Regions from separate parts of the Homo sapiens genome. Here region 2 is linked to region 1. The links are contacts of gene promoters, found by promoter capture Hi-C in human tissues and cell types (Jung and others, 2019). All regions are on one chromosome and are shown on one strand. The core of a region is centred on a gene start or on the middle of the fragment in contact, and the rest is flanking DNA. Distances in the headings are between cores, read along the strand shown. Region 1 holds the start of OR2AT4 (olfactory receptor family 2 subfamily AT member 4). Region 2 holds the start of LOC124902716 (a long non-coding RNA gene).

Region 1 (7,832 bases), core at 4,782-7,281:
CTCACACACACACTGGTATTTCCTCTCAAAACATTTTACAAAGATTTGAAGCTATGTGTGTATGTAGTGGGCGGGGGGAAAGGAGGGATGGGGAATGCGGCTAACGAATTAAGCTCCAAACCACCAAAGGGTAGATGCAAATCTCCCACACTCCTTCCGGGGTGAGGAGATAAGGATCAACCAGACTATCAGCCCACAACTCAGGAGGGTCATACCTTAAGAACAAGAACAAACCAAAGTTGGACTAAATTTTACTAGAACTGAAACTCAGCCCTAACCTAACTCAAGCCTTAACTGGCTTTAGGTAGCCAGCCTACCTTACTCTACCTGCCTAACAAAGAGAAGGGAGGAATCTGTCTGATGAGAGACATCATCTGGGGCCTCTGTGAATCTAATATAAATAATATTCGGTGCACAACACGAATTATTGCAAAAGGCAGGAAAATGTGACCAACAATCAAGAGGGAAAATACACAATAAAAGTTGACATACAGATGATCCCATTACCTGAGTTAGCAAACAAGGACTCTAGTATAACTATGTTTATATATTAAAGAAAATAGAGGAAATGTTGACAAAATGGATTTTAAAATGGGCAATTTCAATAGAAAATTGGAATCTATTTTAAAAAGAACCAAGCAAATATTCTAGAACAGAAATATCCAATATTTGAAATTAAGAACTCACTGGATAGGTATAATAGCAAACTGGACACAATAGAAGACAGGATTAGAGACCTGCAAAATAGATCAGTAGAAAATGTCTAAAATTAAGCCCAGAGATAGAAGAGTATATCTTCTGTATACTTATTTGATATTTGATACGGTATGACTTAATTGATATTAAGTGACAGGCAAAACTAATCTATGATATTATAAATCAGTACAGTGATTGTCTATGGGTGTGAGGACTGACAAGAAGCAGGCAAGAGCATACTTTCTGGGGTGATAGAAATGTTCTATGTATTGAGTTGAGTTTTGGTTACATGTATGTTTACGAAAGTTTATTGAATTGTATACATAAGATCTGCTCATTATCTTCTGAGTAAATTTTACTTCGCTCAAAAAAGACAATAATAAATACAATACAAAGAGAATAAGAAAAGGCAGGAACCAGACTAGGAGAAGATATTTTCCTATTTTCAATACATTTATCAAAGGCCATGTATCCAGTATATATAAAAACCTTGACAAGTAAGAAAAAGACAGATGACCTAATGGACAAATGGGTGAAAGACTTGAATAGGTGGGCACTTTACAAAAGAGAACATCCAAATGGCCAATAAGCATATGAAAAAATTAGCCATCTAGAGATGTAAATTAAAATACAGGATGTTAATAATACATACTCACTAAAATGGCTAAACTTAAAAGGACCGCAAGTGTTGGTAAGATATGTAGTAACTGGTACCTTCATACATTGATGGTAACTAGTACAACCACTTCGGATAACAGTGTGGCAACATCTTCTTAAACTTATGACTTAGCAATTTCACATCAGGATATATAACCAAGAGGTAAGACAAGGTATTCAGCTATTTTTGTTTGTTCATTTGTTTAAGGTACTCACGTGCAATAAAGCCCAAAAATATTTGGGATAGATAATATATAGATATCTATAGATATAAATATAAATCTATGTAGAGATATAGATCAGCTAGTGATGCAGCTAAAGATATAGCACATTTCCAGCAACCCAGAAAGCTCCCTTGCACCTGATCCAATAAATTCTGCTACCCCCAATGTAGCTATTGTTGTGACTTCTGTCACCATGGATTAAATTTTTCTGTTTCTGATGTTCATCTAAATGGCTTTTGTTAGGCTGGGCATGGTGGCTCACACCTGTAATCCTAATACTTTGGGAGGCTGAGGCAGGCAGATCACAGGAGTTTGAGACCAGCCTGGGCAACATGGCAAAACCCTGTCTCTACAAAAAAATTTAAAAATGAAAAATAAGATTAAAAAAAAAAAGATAAGGTCAGGTGCAGTGGCTCATGCCTGCAATCCCAGCACTTTGGCAGGCTGAGGCGGGCGGATCATGAGGTCAGGAGTTTGAGACCAGCCTGACCAACATGGTGAAACCTCGTCCGTACTAAAAATAGAAAAATTAGCTGGGCATGGTAGCACACGCCTGTAATCCCAGCTACTCAGGAGGCTGAAGCAGGAGAATCGCTTGAACCTGGGAGGTGGAGGTTGCAGTGAGCCGAGATCACGTCATTGCACTCCAGCCTGGCAACAGAGCAAGACTCTGTCTCAAAAATAAATAAATAAATGTTTTTTGTCATATTACAATAAAAGGAATGGCAAAAGATGCCTTTTGTGAGAGGACTTGCTTCCAGGTTGGAATCTAAGTTAAAGGTGTATTCTACCCAATAGCAGAAACAGAGATTGGAGGATGTCCCTCTGTAAGAGCATGACTTTTCATCTCTCCTATCAGCTACGCTGTTCAGCAGGTGTTTCTGATTAACCATTTCATTATCACTATCCTGTAGTCTTCCCTAGCCCCAGATAAGACAGTACTACAGGAGTCTGAAAACTTGGGAGTCTTGGGAGCCATTGTTGCTAGAGAACAAGTCGTCTTGTGACAAGTGCCCAAAGGCAGAAGACCCCATTCTAGAGGTTGTTCTCCCCCTGTCAAGGAAGAAGAGATGTGTGCTTTTGTCCTCCCACAGAACCGGAGATCTTTAACTGAGGGAGAATATTGACTGCTCTACTCTGTTGGGGATGTCTCTCTGAATAAACAATCCAGGAGGAAGTTCACGTTTATGTTTACATCATTGTCTCTTGACCCTGATGATTCCAAGATGATTACCTGATGATCTGATGATTACCTTCTCTCTGATTTTCCCTATTTTTCTTACCTCTAATAAAATATCTCTCATGCCATTGAATCATAAAAAATTCCAAACCTGGAAATATCCAGGCGGCTTTTCCTTTTCTCTTTTCTTTTTTTTCTTTTTCTTTTTCTTTTTTTTTTTTTTTTTTTTTTTTTTTTTGAGACAGAGTCTTGCTCTGCCACCCAGGCTGGAGTGCAGTGGTACAAGCTCGGCTCACTGCAACCTCTGCCCTCCCGGGTTCAAGTGATTCGTGTGCCTCAGCCTCCTGAGTAGCTGGGATTACAGGCATGTGCCATCATGCCCAGCTAGTTTTTGTATTTTTAGCAGAGACGGGGTTTCACCATGTTGGCTGGGCTTGTCTCGAACTCCTGACCTCAAGTGATCCACCTGCCTCAGCCTCCCAAAGAGCTGGGATTACAGGCGTGAACCACCGCACCCAGCCAGCTTTTTCTTTTAATATAGAAAGGGCAAAAGACAAAAAGATCCAGGGCTTTCCCATACTGTCATGGCCGGCGAGCCACAGAGATAGGACTGGAGCCCAGGCTCTAACCCCCAGAGCAGCATTCTTCTATCGTCGGTTCCCTGGAGAATCTGGAAGCTCAAATTTTCATGAGGGGAGAGACTGGGGCAAAGGTTTTCTCTTTCCTTCTCCATATATTTGGCTGATATTGTCAGCAGCAAACTACAAATTTCAGAGTTTGTTCTTTAGTTTCCTAAGTGTGGGGTGGGCTGGTTTTCTGTCAGAGAGTGAAGGCAGGTATAATGTCTTTCTAAAAGACATATGAGGCAGGGCACAGGGGTTCACACCTGTAATCCCAGAACTTTGGGAGACCAAGGTGGGAGAATTGCTTGAGACCAGGAGTTTGAGGCCAGCCTGGGCAACATAGCAAGACCCTGTCTCTACAAAAAAATTTTAAAACTAGCCAAGTACAGTGGCTTGTGCCTGTGGTCTCACTACTCAGAAGGCTGAGGCAGGAGGATCACTTGAGCCCAGGAGTTCAAGACTGCAGTGAGCTATAATCATGCCACTGCACCCCAGCCTGGGCAACAGAGGGAGACCCTGTCTTTTAAACAAAACAAATAAACAAAAAGACACATGGGACAGACCACTCCATTGTGAATGCTCCCTTGAAAGAGTATTCTACAGTTCGGCCCCAATTACACAAGCAGGAAAGCAAAACTGCTGCACCTCCACTTAAGAGATAACCCTCAGTTAACAGACCCAACCTGCCTAAGCAAATCACCAGGTTTTTCTAATACCCAAAGAGATGCAAACTACCTTATTCTGAACGTTGTTACAGCTCAGAGAAGTCAATTATGGATTGAATGCCACCGAGTTAGGCTGAATTGGGGTTTGAGGGGAGAAATTCAGAGCCGTCAAGCCTGACTGAGCCTCTCTTCCCACCTCCTCCCTCACTTCTATTAAACAGCAGGGAGACAGATGCTGAGTCTGAAGTCCAGAAATAGTGTCTTTTCAAGGTCAACCAACAAATTCATAGCAGAAGTAGGTTTTAAAGCCGGTGTCCTGGCTCCCACCCAGTCTTTGTAGGATGTTTCATGAGAGAGGATGATTCCTTAGCCTGCTATTCAAAGCCTGTCTTCTTGCAGCCTTGTTTCTCCTTATTCTAGTCAAATGGCAACTCCTTGCTCTTGCCTTGTGCTTCTGCCAAATTCAGCTCAAATATTACTTCCTCCAAGAGATCTTCTATGGTCCTGGCTGGCTCAGGAGCCTCTTTCCTGGGCTCTTGAAGTTCCTGTGCTTCTGTTTGTCATTATTATGATTACACCAGGTTGTCTCTGTCTATTTATGTGTCCACCACACCAGGAGCACTTTCAGAGCAGTAATGGGGTCTGATCGTTTCTATTTGATACTGCACCATCCTTCCCAGGAGCTTAGTGCTCTGGAATGCAGCTTTCCAACTTGCCTTGTTTTGCTGATAAATCATCAAATAGGAATGAAGGGGCCATTAGTGATTAAATAGTTTTCACCTAACCTCTTTTTTTTTTTTTTTTTTGAGATTGAGTCTTGCTCTATCACCCAGGCTGGAGTGCAGTGGCACGATCTCGGCTCACTGCAACCTCTGCCTCCCGGGTTCAAGCGATTCTCATGCCTCAACCTCCCGAGTAGCTGGGATTACAGGCGCTTGCCACCATGTCCGGCTAATTTTTGTATTTTTAGTAGAGATGGTGTTTCACCATGTTGGCCAGGCTGGTCTTGAAGTCCTGATCTCAAGTGATCTGCCCGCCTCGGCCTCCCAAAGTGCTGGCATTTCACCTAACCTCTTTATTATATAGATGGGGACAGAAAAGGGAGTCCCAGAAATGGGCTGTGACTTTCCCAAGGTCACACAGTAAGTGGGTGATAGAACTAGAACTAGACTGTCAACAGAGCTAGATTATCAACTCACCTTGAGCTCTCCTGGACCAGCTCTGCCACTCTCTTGCTGTGATGCTGGGTCTCTGAGCCTCAGTTTTCCCATCTATAAAATGAGGACTTTGGAAGCAATGATCTCCAGCTTGATAAATATTTTGAGTATCTACTCTGTGTTTAGATAAATGAGAGATTCGAAGACAGATGTGTCATGGCCTCAGCCTCTTAGGAAGGAGAGCAAGGGCGCTCTCATTTGTTAAGCTTCTGTTGCCTGCTTGATTCTTTACAGTCATTACACATCATTACGACGCCCAAACTCATGCAGTTCTCTCATGATATTCTCACCATCCTGCACTGTTTCCATAGAAAAGGAGCAGGATATACGTGAAGCACAGAATCTAGGTCTATTAACTTTGCAGTTAGAAAGGCCTGAGTTTCCTTCCTGGCTCCACCACTTTGTGCTTTCCTCCAATGGACTGCAATTCCCTCACAAATTATTCCCATTTCTCTTATCGTCATCAGCTTTGCCTCCTTGTGAGGAATTCTCTTCCAAGATCATTAGCCTCTTGCTTGTGACTGCACAGCCCTGCCCCTGCCTGCGAGGGTGTCTGGTCTACACTCACCCAGGCTGACTGCGTGGTTGACTTGGATCCTGGGACCCTGACATTCCCAGGATCTTTACTGTGGTTGTACATGCCCCCAACCTCCCTGAGCCTATCTCCCCATCCCAGTCTCTGCCTGCTCTGCGCACTCCATCCCCAGCCCAGCTCACCTACCAATCCTGGTCCGCCTTGATGTCTTGTGTAGAGTCGTCACAGTTGGCCTTGGTTGGGAAGAGCCAGGTAGAAACTCAACCATGGCCCTTTAAACCCTCGGGCCCCTCTCTGCAACCAGGCCTGCTGGGGCTCTCTCCCCACAAGAAGGCTCACCCGTGGGACCAGATAACTGCCAGTCAGCTGAGAACAACTTCCGAGGGTGGAGTGGGGGACTTTGTTCTGGGCTTTGCTGATAATGAAAACAACATCATTAACAACCCTCATGGGTCCCAGAACTTTATCACCAGTATTATTCCTGTTTTCCCATCTGGTCCTCACAATAGCCAGGGAAGACAGGCAGAGTCAGGATTATTTCCACTATTTTACATTTGAGGAAACTGAGATCTAGAGAAGTGAGGTGACTTGCCCAAGGTCATATGAGTGGCTGGTGGCAGAGCTGGGATTTGTACCCAAGGCTCCAATTCTGGTTCAGTGGTTCAGCAACATGTTATCTAATGACTAAGACCCGAGTTATTCCCAGTAATATGACTTTGAACAAATCCCTTAACCTCACTGGGTCTTCATTTTGTCATCTGTGGAATGGGTATAACGACACTAACTCTCTCACAGGATAACTGGGCAGGTTGAGGTGCTTCACCCAGTTCCTGCCACTTATTAGGCATTCAATAAGTGGGAGCTATTATTTTAATGGACCAAAGCAGTAAAGCCTTGTTCAATGAGTATGTGATACTTCCGCTGCTGTGCAATGAGAACTTGCAAAGGTTTTGTGGAAAGAATGTGAGGGTGGAAGTCTCTGCCCCAACCCCATACAGGACAAAGTCAAGAGTCACAGACTCTTCCTGCCTCAATCTTTCTGATTCTCTCCTTTGGCTCCAGTGTTCTGTTTCTGACTTGACTGACTTGGTCACTCCTACTAATACTCATAAAATTTTAATTTTTTTTTAATTTCACAAGTAATAAACAGAACCTCATTGTAGAACATTTTAATCAATACAGAGCTTTACTGAGTCAAAAGTGAAAGTTCTAGGCCGGGTGTGGTGGCTCACGCCTGTAATCCCAGCACTTTGCCGGGCCGAAGGGGGAGGATCTCTTGAGTCCAGGAGTAAGAGAGCAGCTTGGACAACTGGCAAAACTCTATCTCTACTGAAAAATACAAAAAAATTAGCTGGGCATGGTGGCATGCACCTGTAGTCTCAGTGAGAGGTGACAGCGTGCTGGCAGTCCTCACAGCCCTCGCTCGCTCTCGGTGCCTCCTCTGCCTGGGCTCCCACTTTGGCGGCACTTGAGGAGCCCTTCAGCCCACCGCTGCACTGTGGGAGCCCCTTTCTGGGCTGGCCAAGGCCGGAGCCGGCTCCCTCAGCTTGCAGGGAGGTGTGGAGAGAGAGGCGCGAGTGGGAACCAGGGCTGCGCCTGCGCTTGCAGGCCAGCTGGAGTTCTGGGTGGGCGTGGGCTTGGCGGACCCCACACTCAGAGCAGCCGGCCGGCCCTGCTGTCCCCAGGCAATAAGAGGCTTAGCACCCGGGCCAGCGGCTGTGGAGGGTGTACTGGGTCCCCCAGCAGTGCCAGCCCACTGGCGCTGTGCTCGATTTCTCTCTGGGCCTTAGCTGCCTTCCCGCGGGGCAGGGCTCGGGACCTGCAGCCCGCCATGCCTGAGTCTCCCACCCCCTCCCTGGGCTCCTGTGCGGCCCCCGCCTCCCCGATGAGTGCTGCCCCGTGCTCCACAGCACCCAGTCCCATCGACCACCCAAGGGCCGAGGAGTGTGGGCGCATGGCTCCGGGACTGGCAGGCAGCTCCACCTGCAGCCCCGGTGCGGGACCCACTGGGTGAAGCCAGCTGGGCTCCTGAGTC
Region 2 (7,663 bases), core at 4,561-7,060, 110 kb after region 1:
TTCTTCCTCCTTCCCCCAGCCAGCCAGCTGTCCTGGGGCCAGGCTTTCCTGGGTGGAAAGAAGTATACCTTTCCCTGGGGCCCTAGGATAGCAAAGTGAGCCATAGTGGGCCAGGCTGCCCTCCATGCTGGGCCCCAGCCCAGGTCTGCACTCGCCTGGATCACCTTCTTTGAGCCTTAGCCATCTCCTGTCAGGTAGGAATGAACTTGCCAGCCTTCAGGCTCGTTCAGCTATGACCATCTGTGCGGTCAGGGTACACTCAGCTCTCCTCCCCAACTCCAGCAGCCTTTAAGAAGTGTCCCTTTGGCGCCCCCTGGAGGCAGAGCACTGAGCTGGACCCTGGGTAGACTCCCACAGGGAGGACGGAGCTGGCCTCAGGAGTGGGACACCCAGACTTGGCAGGGCCTTCAAGAGGCCTGTGTGGGGGCCCCAGGAATCCTTAGCTGAAGCGGGGAGACTCACTCTCCATCTCAGGAAATTCTAGCCCTTGCCCTCAGGGAGCCACGGTTGAGGGTGAGGCCCAACACCTGCCTTAGGGCCCTGGGTGGGCAAGTCTGGGCCCTGGGGTAGGGAGGGAGACTCAGGCCCACACTTGGGTATTTTCTAATTTCAGACAAACACACACTCAGCGCGCACTCACTGATTCCTACACATTGCCAAGATTTCACACATGTGACCAGGGGCCACCAAAGTCCCTGTGACCTTTGTGACTAGGATCCTAATTTCTCTATTTTCTCCTGGGTGCCTGGGTCTGTGTCACCTGGGGCAGTGTGGATAATGTTTAGTTCTGTGACACTGTTTTTTGGGGGTGGCACCTGGTTCTCCGATGCCTGGGCTGGTGTCAGGCCCAGGACTGTAGTGCTGGGAGCAGTAAAGCTCAGCTCTGTGTAATGAGTGATGCTATGGCTTGCTCGTGTCTTATGATCCAATCCTTTTCTACATCAGCCCTTGTTTTGTTTTATGGCTAGTCTTATCTGGCCTGGTTATTTCCTTGCGGGGAGGAGAGGGTTTGCTAATCTGCTCCCAGCCCAACCTATTACCACCCCACCTCGCTGGGACCTACTGCTCGGGAGGCAGCAGACAGGGAGCCACCAGCAGTGGCTTCCTGGCCCTGTGCTGGGGGTGGGGGGAAGCTGGGGGCACATGTGGCCCTTGCCTTCTGAGCAGCTCCCAGTGCCAGGGCTTTGAGACTTTCCCACATGATAAAAGAAAAGGGAGGTACAGAAGTTCCAATTCCCTTTTTATTTTGCTGGTTGGTATCTGTAAATGTTTAATAAATATCTGAGCATGTATCTATCAACGCCAAGAATTTCAAAGTCTCCTTCAACAATATGAGGCTTTTAGGATGTTTATATTCCTTCATCCCTCTTGTTTCCCAGGTTTTGCAGGGAAAAAAAGTCTGGAATTATAGATACAGCTTATTATTAAATTTGTTCTTGCATAATGTCTCTTCTATTACAAAAATTCTTTCTTCATAAACTGCATTAGAGGTTTGCAACAACCACATCATTTCCATTAACTTAGATTTAGGTTTTACTGGATTCATTGCTCACCATTATTGCTTGTATATTACATCTTTTCCAATCTTTATATTCTGGTCTAATTTTTGTTTGAGTGTCTTCGTCTACTAATGGTTTCAAAAATGGAATAAGGTCATGAGGATTTCTGAATCCTCACCTGTCCAAATTGTCATTCACATTTTATAGAAGAGGAAACTGGCTCAGAAAGCACAAGTGACTTCCCCAAGATCACACAGAAAATAAATGATGGAGCCAAGGTTGGATGTGTAGACCTTGTGGGAACTGAAGGTTTTATAATTTGAGGAGCCCTCTTTAAGAAAAATATACAAAATTATGAATATAAAATTAGGTACAAGGTACCTATATTTACCTATAATGAGAAAAGAAATCAAAACAGATACATCACACAATCCCCCCAAAATGCGTAATACTTTTATTAACTGCCCTGCTTAACCTCTGAGACACATTTTCTCCCCCTGATGATTAGAAGAATTTTCCACAGACTAGCTTCTGGCTCTGTACATTTCAAACCTGGTTTCTCCTGTTTCTTGTCTACTGCCCATATACTTCCTGGGCTGGGTGCCATGACACACATTCATATCACGATATGACCTCTGCATATGGCAACTTAATATCACCATGCCAAGTGAGCTGGGCAGTGGGTAGAATTCCTAGAAGCTATTCTCTACACAGAGATTACTAGCAATGATTTATCTATACACAGAGAACCACATAAATATTAATATATCCTCTGTTTCAGAAAACCACATAAACATATCCCAGTGAACCCAACTCAAATCAGTCCCCCACTCAGCTTCCCCTTGGTCAGATCCCAGAAGTGCCCATGGCCACTCCAATTATCCCACATAAAGGAAAATTGAAACACAAGGGAAGTTGGAGTGGGAAGAAAATAGTAATTTTGATTGTGGTTAAAGTATCTTACCTTTGCAAATTTTATAAAAATATGACAACGTGAACACATCGCTGAGGCCCTCCCTGGATCTGGGGAGAGTCCTGGATGCTCAAGCTGCATTCACATCACGGTGAGTCCGCCTCTTGGTTGAGCCAAGATCTGAAGGAAAAGACGAGGTCCTTGTGCCTAAAGTCTTCCAAACTGGACATGGTGAGGAGACTCAGGAGTTACCCAAGAGAGAAATGGGTCAAGAGCCAAGGGGTGGAGCAAGTCAGGGCCAGAGGGGTTTTCCAGGCCCTGTGGGGGTCCCAGGGAAGTCCTCTCCCCTAATATAGCCTCTGGTCAATGAAGAGCCACAAGCATTTGCATCTGCAAGCTTACTTTCTTACACTGTACCAGGAAGCTGGGAGGAGAAGACATTAAGTCTCCCTGCTAGATTGTGCTGGTGTAAAGTCAGCAGAGGACAGGACTCAGACCAGAACTGACATCCTGATGCCTAGGTTTCTTTTCTTGTAGACTCTGGGAAGGTCTGGGATGCTAGATGCTGGGAAGTTCTAGGGTAGGCAGATGACCCATCAGGAGCTGGCATCCAGGGGTCATGACTGACATGCAGATAAGTGAAAGAGAACTCAGCGACATCCTCACCATTGCCTGGAGGTGTTGAATTCTTTCCCCTTCACATACCTTTGCTTATGCTGTTCCCTCTGACCTGGGTTATCTTCTTCATCCCCATCGCACAGCTTGTCTCTCCATCCCCACTTCATAAAGTCCTACCCAATCTTCCAGGCCCAGCTCAAAGGCCACCAACTCCAGGAAGGCAACATGGTATAGGCAATGGGGGGCAAGTGAAAACCACCTCTGGGGATCCAATCAAAGGCATAGACTCTCCACTAAATATAAAACAAAACACACACACAGAGACATATACACAATTGTGCATATGATTTCAGAGGTTGAAGACCATATGATGCCTGGGTGTAGACCTCCTAAGCATCCCAGGTCCCCAGTCAAAAGCCCTTAATGGAGTGAAAAGATTATAGAGTTGTGGAGAGAGTCAGACTTGGGATCAAATCTTGACTCTGCCACTTATTACAGTGTGACGATGAACAAATGATTTAACCTCTCTGCACCTCAGTTTGCTCACCTGCAAGTGAGGTTGAGCATGCCTAGCTCCTATCTCCCAGAAGCTGTGAGGACCGGGTAAGATCATGTACATGCTCACAGGCACCACACCTGATGATCAGGATTTGTAAGCTCCCTTCCCCTTCTGTCCCTGAAAAAATTTCATAAACACATAGAGCATCAGAGTCGGAGGGGGAAGTGACAACAGAGGGAGGAACACACCTCCTTTGCCCTACCCTGGCCACAGCTCCGTTGTCCCCAATCTCTCCTCCACTGTCAGCCAGGGCTCAGCCAGCCCAGTCTTATCTCTCCCCACAGCCAGCTTGGGACAGCTTTTCTCAACCAGATTTACATTTTTATTGATTTTCTTTCTCCCTCCTAGAGCAGTCCCTCCCTTCTACTTCCCCTTTGGCTATCAAATGGGCTTACCCTGGGAAACAGCAGTTCTAGGGCTGGCCAAGAAGTGATGGTTCAAGGTTGGATTCATTCACCCTTCCTTCCTTCATTCATTCAGCCACTCACATGAGCAACACATATCCTACATGTCTGCTCTGTGCCCTTCTCCTGGCATTGCTGGGGACACAACCATGTGTCAGATACAGTCTCTACTCAGGAAACTCTCAGTGTAAACAGACGACAAACAGTAACAAAAGCATGAGTAGTCATACAGGAGAGGGAAGAAGAGGAAGCCAAGGACTCTTCCTGGGGCCAATAGGGAAGGCTTCCAAGAGGTTATATCAGACCTGGTGTTAAGGATTAGGCAGGACTTCCTCAAGTGGACAAGGTGGAAATGGGCAGGAAAAACAACAGGACGAGCAAAGATAGAGAGAGGTGTGTCTGAGATACAGTGACAAGAGCAATGTGGCTGGAGGGCACTGCATGTGCAGGGCAATCAGGAGACAGAAGAGAGCAGAGGCTGGAAAGACCAGCAGGGACCAAGCATGGAGACCCAGCTGAAGGTGTGGATGCTTCCCTGAGGGCAAGGAGGAACCCCTGAAGCACTGATTGATGGATTATTCCATTGGCCAGTTATTTTAAGCAGGGAGTGACATGACAAGATTTGCATTTTGGAAAGGCCGCTGGTTGCACCATGGGGGCTTTGAGTGGAAAAGAGAAGCTGAAGGCCAAGAGCTCAGGCAGGGGGCAGGTGCAACAATCAAGAGAAGTAGGAGGACTACAGCCAGGTCAGGAGAGGCATCCTAGAAGTGGGATATCTAAGGTCAGTCTTGAAAGACGAGTGGGAATGCACCAGGAAGAGAAGTTGGGAAGGGTGTCAAGGCAGAAGAAACTGCACAGACAAAGTAGACAGAAACCTCCTGGCAGGCTTGGGGTATTTCCACTAGTTTAGCAGGGCTGCAGCATGGCCTAAGAGAGAAGGCATGGAGAGGGTGAGGCTGAAGAAAGTGGGTTGATGCTCTCAATGCCACTCAGTGTTGTCCACCTCCCGAACCTAGCCCCAGGTGAGAGAGGAGAGGGAGCCCTCACCTCTGTACAGAGGTGGCTGTACAGGTCTGAGCCCTAGGTCAGGGGTGCTCCTTAGTCCAAACACACCTTTTAGTGTTCACTACATTTCACATTTTACACAGTCCCTTTACACCCCGTCCTCATGGTTTCCTGGTGAAGAAGGCAGGAAAGGGATTATTATTGCCATGTAGTAGGTAAAGAAACTGAGGCCCAGAAAAGTGCAGAAACTTGCCCAAGGTCACTCAAGAGCCCAGGTATCCCCCTCCTAAGGCTCCCATGTTGTTGCTAATAAACCTACTTGTCCCTGAATCACATATGTACAATAGATGTAGTAAGTGCTAACTAATGTGGTTGGGATGAAAAAAGGGGGGAGGAGAGAAAACACATCAGAGAAAGAGGTTTCCTTTTTATGTCCCCATTTCCTCAGCCTTCATCCTGCAGCTGGGGACATTCCAGCTGGGAAAACAGAACCCAGGTCCCTCTGCTTTGGAATCCAACAGACAGGAAGGTCAATCCAAGCTCTGCCACTTACCAGGCATGGGAAGTCACTGCACTCATCGGAGCATTGGTTTTCTCATCTGTAAAAGGGATAAATAAGCTTCACCTATCAGAATCGTTGAGAGGATTTAATGTGATAAAGTAGCAATATAGTAATCTACTACTGAGTAATAAATTTTCTGGCTGACACAGTGGCTCAAACCTGTGATCCCAGCCATTTGGGAGACTGAGGCAGGAGGATCACTTGAGCCCCAGAGTTTGAGACCAGCCTGGGCAACACAGTGAGGCCCCATCTCTCCAAAAAATAATAATAATAATAAAAAGAAACTTAGCCAAGGGTGGTAGCACCCACACCTGTAGTTTCAGCTACTTGTAAGGTTTAGGTGGGAGGATTGCTTGAGCCCAGGAAGTCAAGATTGCAGTGAGCAGTGATTGTACTACTGCATTCCAGTCTGGGTAACAGAGCAAGGCCCTGCCTCAAAAAACCCCCCAAAACCAAAAAATAAATTTTCCCAAAGTTTAGCAACTTAAAACAACAAATATTTATTATCTCATAGAATTTCTGAGGGTCAAGAACCCACAGATGGGCTAACTGGAAGGTGCTGGATCTTCATGAGGATTTCTGATGAAGTTGTAGTCAAGCATCAGCCAGGGCTGCAGTCATCAGAAGGCTCAACTGGGGTGAGAGGATCCACTTCCAAGTTCATTCGATGATTGCTGTTGGGCCTCTGTACCTTGTTGGCAGTTGACCAAAAGCTTTGATTCCATGTGCCTTTTATGATCTAATATTGGAAGAAACATACCGTAACTTTTGCCATATTCTCTTGGTCATGTAGACAAACCCTGGTATAATGTGGGAGGGGAATACAAAAAGGCATGAATACCAGGGGGTATGGATCATTGGGAGCCATTTGGAAGCTGGCTACAACAAGCACTCAGACCAGTGCCTGACACACAGTAGGTACTTATTCATTAGTCGCTGCTATAACTCTTGCAATGACCTATCACAGCCTGGTTGAGAAGATAAGATCTGGACATGATAAGGTGAGAAATCTTTGGCAAAGTGAAATGTAACTTGAATTAAACAATGTTCAATTACATTAGAAGAGGGTGTGCCGGACAAGGCCCTGGCAACCAGGGAAGACTTCCTGGCGGAGATGGAGAGGAGGTAGGAGGGCAATCCAGAGAGAAAACAGAAGATGAGTATGGCAGGTTGTATTGGTTGCCTTCCCATGGCAAATGCTCTCTTCTTCATTCTGGTAGCAAGGTGCTCAGCCACAGGGATGATCCAAGGCAGCAATGGAAATGCCTTCCCCTTTGCCAGAAAGTGGTCCAAGAGTAGACATGTGACCTCGTCTTAGTCAATGACATGTTTGGGGATAGTCTGCTGGGAAAGCTTCTCTCCTGGATAAGAGAATGATGTGAAGGGAGAATACCCTTTTTGCTACCATGCCCTTTCTCCCTGCTTGGGAGGACATGGTTCCTGATGGCACTCAGTCATCTTGCAATCACAGGGGTAGTCACCCTCGAGGCTCAGAATGGGAAATGCCTGGGTCATCAAAGACATTGTTGAATCAGCAGACCAATCCTCATTCCAACTTCTTCTGGCCTCATTAAAAAATAAAAAGTTTAAGCCACTCTAAAGCAGGTGACCTCTTCCTTGCATCCTAAATGATTCAGTGAGAAAAGTATCCTGGTTCCCTCTGGGACTATTTTCTTTTTCTGAGGAAGACAGAGGGAAGAGTGGAATGGGAAAGGGCCCAGGCTGGGAGGCAGGCGTCCTTGGTCTAACCCCAGCTCTGCCTCTGAGTTGCTGTGTGATCTTGAGCAAGTCCCTTCTCCCCTGGGCCTCCAATGATTACAGCTAATATTTATTGGCTGTTTACTGTGTGCCCAGTGCTCTTCTAAGAGCTTCCCTTGCATCATCTCATTCAATCTTCACAACACCTCTGTTATGTCAGTATCACTATTATCTTTATTTTAGGGATAAGGAGACTGAGGCCCAGAAACTTGAGGTCCAGGATCCTGACTATAAAGCCATATTGCCTAGCAGTAAAAGGAAGTATCCAGACAAGGTGACCTCTAAGGGCCTCTTAAGCTCAAATATTCTTTCATTTGCTGTCCCATTTCTAGCTACATGATCAAC

Evidence for each region. Contacts are between HindIII fragments. The study calls those that stand out against the background at their distance.
Region 2: a contact is called between a fragment that was not itself captured here and the fragment with the promoter of OR2AT4 in region 1, in 2 of the 25 tissues and cell types used here (IMR-90 fibroblasts and lymphoblastoid cells).

What each region holds. Positions count from the first base shown.
Region 1 is chr11:75,090,845-75,098,676 of GRCh38, forward strand. OR2AT4 (olfactory receptor family 2 subfamily AT member 4) reads right to left here and starts at 6,032. Exons shown (of 2, transcript NM_001405852.1): 1 at 5,984-6,032. RefSeq lists a cis regulatory region at 5,891-6,406. The HindIII fragment of the contact is 12,596 bases long and covers 1-6,824 here.
Region 2 is chr11:75,204,811-75,212,473 of GRCh38, forward strand. TPBGL-AS1 (TPBGL antisense RNA 1) reads right to left here. Exons shown (of 6, transcript XR_950308.4): 5 at 5,552-5,597; 6 at 1,228-3,323. It overlaps LOC124902716 (a long non-coding RNA gene), which reads left to right and starts at 6,013. Exons shown (of 2, transcript XR_007062782.1): 1 at 6,013-6,198. It overlaps SLCO2B1 (solute carrier organic anion transporter family member 2B1), which reads left to right. Exons shown (of 14, transcript NM_007256.5): 14 at 1-1,739. The HindIII fragment of the contact is 3,195 bases long and covers 4,214-7,408 here.